2 separate regions of the Homo sapiens genome follow, and region 2 is linked to region 1. Evidence: promoter capture Hi-C in 16 types of primary human blood cells and fetal thymus (Javierre and others, 2016). All regions are on one chromosome and are shown on one strand. Each heading gives the region's core, a stretch centred on a gene start or on the middle of the fragment in contact. The rest is flanking DNA. Distances are from core to core; before and after follow the strand shown. Region 1 holds the start of ZFR (zinc finger RNA binding protein). Region 2 has its middle 54 kb from the start of GOLPH3.

Region 1 (2,721 bases), core at 96-2,595:
GACCTCACCTCGTGATCCACCCGCCTCGGCCGCCCAAAGTGTTGGGATTACAGGCGTGAGCCACCGCGCCCGGCCAGCATTTCCTTTTAATGTTCATATCCAACAATGAGGAGAGATGAGGAGCAGGGAGTCTGGGGGATGGGCATGGAGAAGGTAAGGAAGAGGTGAAATGCAGGCAGTACATATGTACTTGATGGAAGACACGAAACATAAGGCCAGAGAAACTAGACGATCAGAAGAGGGACTGGAAGAGGAAAGAGAATGGTTGAAAACGAACTGAGAAACTAAAGGGAAGAAAGCGAGGAAACAGAGGGAAAGAGGAAATGCTTACATGGGGGCAAGTACTGTTCTGTCCTTACCACTAAAGATCTGGCACGTGATCTGGTCTCCCTCTCACTTGACTCCAGCCAGACTGATCTTCTTGCTCTTGAACATTCATTCCTTCATCTGGACCCTTCCACTTGCTGCTCTTCCTGCAGGCATCTCCCAGGCCTGTCCTTCCTTCCTTCAAGTGGTCTCCCTAACCACACTCTACATGAAATAGCACCTCCCTTACCCTTATTTTCCTTACTCTGCTTTATTTATGCTTGAAGCTCCAGTCACCATCAGACAGAATTTCTGTGTTTTGGCTACCGGCTGTTGGCTGACATATACCCGCTCCTAGAACGTAAACTCCACGGGAACAGGGACTTTGTTTTGTTCTCTGCCGTATCTCCAGCACCTACAACACTGCCTGACACCCTGCTGGGTGACCGATATACGCCGGATGGCTCAGGGAGTGGGTGCAGGTCGAGGAAAGGGTATAGCAAGAGGTATGTCCGGGAGGGATGTTTAGGGTGTGCTTTTAGTCCAACAGAAAAGCACTCTCCATCCTTTTTCTATTTCTCTCCTCTCCTTCTCCCTCCCTCCGCACTTCAGAGGTTGGGGAAAAGCTGCGGGAAAGCAGGAAATAAGGAAAAATCCTAAATTGCCCAGCTCGAATTCCAATGAAAAATTAATGAGCGAGGAAGACAGGGAGGCAGGGAATAAGTGCACATGCAAAAGTTAAGGAAGCCAGTGGAAAGCAAAGAAAAAGGCGAACAGACGTCACTCTCTCTGGTCACGCTCCCCGACTCCCCAGAGGACAGGCGAGGCGCTTCTGGCACACGCCCCCGTCGCCCCGCGGCCGCGCGGCGTCACCACCACTTCGGAGAAGGCCAGGCCCCTCTTCCCCCGCGGGCTTCCCCGCGCCCGCACCGCCGAGGCCCCGGCACGCGCCCGGGGGAGCCGCGAAGACGGCGGGGACTACAGCTCCCAGGATGCCGAGCACAGGCGCGCCTGCGCAGTGCGGTCGGAGGCGGCGGTCTGTTCTCCGCTGAGGAGGAGCGGGGCAGAGGAGGGAGGCAGCGGGTGAGAGTTCAGAGTTCAGCAGCAGCAGCCCGAGCCCATGATTCCCATATGCCCTGTAGTTTCTTTCACCTATGGTGAGTCTAATGTGGCCCGCGAGGCCTCTGCCCGGCCCCCTCCCTGGCCCCGGGCAGCGGGGAGCCGCGGGGGTTGGGGCAGGCTCCGGGGAGGAGGCGGCGGCCGCCACCCGGGCGTGCGAGTGAGTGAGGGAGTGCGAGGCGGGAGGGGGAGGCGGCGCGGCCGCGGCCTGGGCCCCGCCAGGGCTGCTCTCACGGCGCCTCTCTCTTTCTCTCCCTGCCCTCCCTCGGCGTCTCGGCTCCTCTGTGTCTCTTGTCCCGCCATGGGACCCGACTCTTCGTGCCCGCCGCAGTGCCCAGCCGGCTGGGGGAAGATGCCAAAATGGCGACCGGCAACTACTTTGGATTCACCCACAGCGGGGCGGCGGCGGCGGCGGCTGCGGCCCAATATAGGTAACGGCATCCTGCCTTCTCTCTGTTCGCCCCTTGCTCTCCCCTCGGTCCGGATCCTGTCGATGCGACGCCCCCGCGCCCGTCCCCAGCCATCCCAGAGCCCCGGCCCGCTGCAGGCCTGGCCCGGCCCAGCCCGGCGGCCTCTCCCGCCCCGCCCCGCCCCGCCCCGCCTTGCCCGGCCCGGCCCGGCCCGCGGCGGGGAGCGGCCCCCAGTAGGGGGGAGGTAGAGACGGCGGAGGTGTAGGGACGTGGAGGCCTCAGGGCCCTTCAGCGGCCCCTTAACTAAAATGGCCTCCTGCGGCCGCCGAGCGGAGCCGCCACCGCCGCCCGGCAGGCCCCCCAGTCCCCGCCTCCGCGCGTCCAGCCCCCACCTCCCATCTTCTTCCCACTTGGGGGATGGAGAGGGTGGCTGAAGGGACCTCACGGGGAGTGCCGTGTCGCAGGTCCACTGGCTTCTCGTGCGACGCCTCTCTGCGTCGTCGCCTGGTGCTTCAACCCCCGGAGCCCAGATAACGTGTCGTTGTCTCGGGTACCTTTTCCTCCGCCGTGGGGCTTCTTCCCCAGACGCTCCATCGCTAGCGAGTCCTGCTGACAAACTGCGGGTGTCACTGTGTTCATCGGGTTCCTTTAGTTTTTCCTGCAAGGAGAGAGATTCACATACCAACCACCTGTAAATTGTGTAGTTCTTAGACTGGAAAAGATGTGCGAAGTTTCTAGTGCTGATAAATGAGTGCCCAGCCTTGTTTGAGCTATGGAGTTTAGGCCCCAGGTGGGCCTGTCATTCTCCTTGCGGGGGTCTTTCCCCTGCGGGGAATGGTGGGGAGGGAAGAAGATGCAAGTGAGATTGTACTGAGTCATTGTAATG
Region 2 (2,700 bases), core at 167-2,666, 320 kb after region 1:
CCACCATTACTGGTCCGTGGCCTGGGGGTTGGGGACCCCTCTGTGGAGGATATCATCACTCCTAGTCTATGTTCATTATTGAGGGGTTATCATTTACTGCCTTTTGGTAATTTGTATTTTTCCTGTGAATTACCTGTTCGTGTTCTTTATTCATTTTTCTGAAGGGCATTGATCTTTTTATGTACTGATTCACGAGGACTTAAGCCTATGATGCAGTTGTTTTCCCAGTCTTGGGAGCTGGCAGATGGTAAGTTTTGCTTTTGCTTTCTTTAACATTCAGAAAAGTGTAAGGTGCAGTGCTTGAGCATGCAATTTGTGGAGATCCTTCTTCTAAAGAGATGTCTGGTGGTCAGATTTGATATATATTAACTTTGGGAGGGTATGATCAAATTTAAAAATGGAAAAAGTCGAAATGTCTAGGTTAAGAATATGTATATAAGCATTTCATTAAAAGTTTTTATGATTAAAATATAAATGGAAAATCTCAAATATTTACATTAATTAATTTAAGGCACCCATGTTTACAGCCATTACCCAGGTCAGGAGATAGAACCTTGCCAGCTATACCCTGAAGCTGTTCAAGTCTTTCTCCCAATTACAGTCTTCATAAGAGTAAGTACTGTCCTGACCCAGTGTGAATCTTTAATTGTATTGTTTTGTTTCATTTGATATGTCTTTTAAGTTTTTTTTGAATCTGTAGGTTCTTCCCCCATCTCTCTCTTGTTTTTCCTTTGCAAAATATTTGTTGATGAAATTGGATCATTTGTCCTGCAGAGTTTTCCAAGGTTTGGATTTTGTTGATGGTTTCCACAAGGTGTGATTTAAGGTGTTTGACTTCTACACTGCATTTCCCAAGAATTGGTAATTGGCTCTAGAAGCTTAGATTCAGGTTTGTTTGTGTAGGCAACACTAATCAGTGGTGGTGTATGCTTCCACCAGGAGGCACATAATGTCTCATATTTTCCTTTTGTGATGTTAGCAGCCTTGCTTTTCAATTCTTATTTATTGGGGTTGCAATGTGATATTTTAATAATTCTTTTTTTTTTTTTTTTTTTGAGATGGAATCTCGCTCTGTTGCCCAGGCTGGAGTGCAGTGGCCCGATCTCAGCTCACTGCAAGCTCTGCCTCCCTGCCTCCCAGATTCACGCCATTCTCCTGCCTCAGCCTCCCGAGTAGCTGGGACTACAGGTGCCTGCCACCATGCCCGGCTAATTTTTTGGTATTTTTAGTAGAGATGGGGTTTCACCATGTTAGGATGGTCTCGATCTCCTGACCTTGTGATCTGCCCGCCTCGGCCTCCCAAAATGCTGGGATTACTGGGATTACAGGCGTGAGCCACCGCACCCGGCAATTATTTCTTTTTCTTTTTTTTTTGAGTCAGAGTCTCACTGTGTCGCCCAGATTGGAGTGCAGTGGCGTGATCTCTGGCTCAATACAACCTCCGCCTCCTGGGTTCAAGCAATTCTTATGCCTCAGCCTCCCGAGTAGCTGGGATTACGGGCGCCTGCCACCATGCCCGGTTATTTTTCTATTTTTGTGTTTTTAGTAGAGACAGGGTTTCACCATATTGGCCAGGCTGGTCTCAAACTCCTGACCTTGTGATCCTCCTGCCTCAGCCTCCCAAAGTGCTGGGATTACAGGCTTGAGCCACGGCGCCTGGCCCTCATTATTATTTTTTTTTTTTAGCTAGAATATTTCTATAAAGAGACGTGTTATCTACATTACGTTTTACTATAATTCATAGAGGGAAGGTAGAATAATTCTTACAGTTTATTTACCTATTTTCAAAATACAGCTGATTCCATGGCACCCTCCAAAAATAACTTTAATTTTTAAAGTATTATGAACTTATGGAAACACATTCTGTTTAAATTGACAAATAATAATTGTGTATATTTATGGGTATAATGTAATGTTTTAGTCTTTGTACACATTGGAGATTCAGTCAAGCTTATTAAAATAACCATCACCTTACCAACTTATATTTTTGTGGTAAGAATACTAAAAATAGTCCTTTTTAGCAATTTTGAAACACAATACATTATTAACTGTTGTCACCATGCAATGCAATAGATCACTAAAACTTGATTCCTCTAGTCTGAGACTTTGTATCCTTTGAACAACGTTTGTTTCCCTATCTCTCCCCTTCCCGTCAGTTTCTAGTAACCATTTTTCTACTCTTTTTCTATGAGATTGGCTTTTTTAGATTACACATATAAGCGAGATCTTTTTTTTTTTGTCTTTTTTGTGCCTTATTTCACTTAGTGTAATGGAATAATCATTCTTTTATGTGTTTTGGTCTACAGTTATTAGCCCTATTAATGCTCAAAATGCCCTATCTTTGGCCAGTGGAACTCTCTTCAAGGATCTGGAGTCCTTTTGATAGTTTTAGTAGTCTTTGATAACTTCCTGGTATGGCTCAGATGTTTCAGGTTCATTTTGTATATTTCCTACCCTGTATCTGGAATCATCTATTTTTCCAACAAGCCATGTTTCTTTTAGCATGAAATGGTACTTCGAGACCGTAATTTGGGCTTTCAGAATACTTGTTACTACTGCCTTGGTCATTGCTTCTGGGGGAAAATCTTATGTGTGTTTGTGTGGTGTATGTATGTGTTTATGAAAAGTACCTCACAGAGTTTCAGTGCGGGAAGTTAAAGTGGCAGGGATGGGGCTGGGTGTGGTGGCTTACGCCTGTAA

The links. Contacts are between HindIII fragments. The CHiCAGO score rates a contact against its expected background, and 5 or more counts as called.
Region 2: a fragment that was not itself captured here is called in contact with the fragment with the promoter of ZFR in region 1 in 9 of 17 cell types (activated CD4 T cells, M2 macrophages, monocytes and 6 more); the score reaches 8.5 in activated CD4 T cells.

Annotation. Positions count from the first base shown.
Region 1 is chr5:32,443,364-32,446,084 of GRCh38, reverse strand. ZFR (zinc finger RNA binding protein) reads left to right here and starts at 1,345. Exons shown (of 20, transcript NM_016107.5): 1 at 1,345-1,463; 2 at 1,757-1,856. The coding sequence starts at 1,427. RefSeq lists silencers at 1,043-1,732, 1,963-2,302 and an enhancer at 1,694-2,251. The HindIII fragment of the contact is 7,512 bases long and covers 1-2,721 here.
Region 2 is chr5:32,119,407-32,122,106 of GRCh38, reverse strand. No RefSeq gene overlaps it. Among named protein-coding and RNA genes, the nearest start is that of GOLPH3, 54 kb to the left of the region's middle. The HindIII fragment of the contact is 1,072 bases long and covers 881-1,952 here.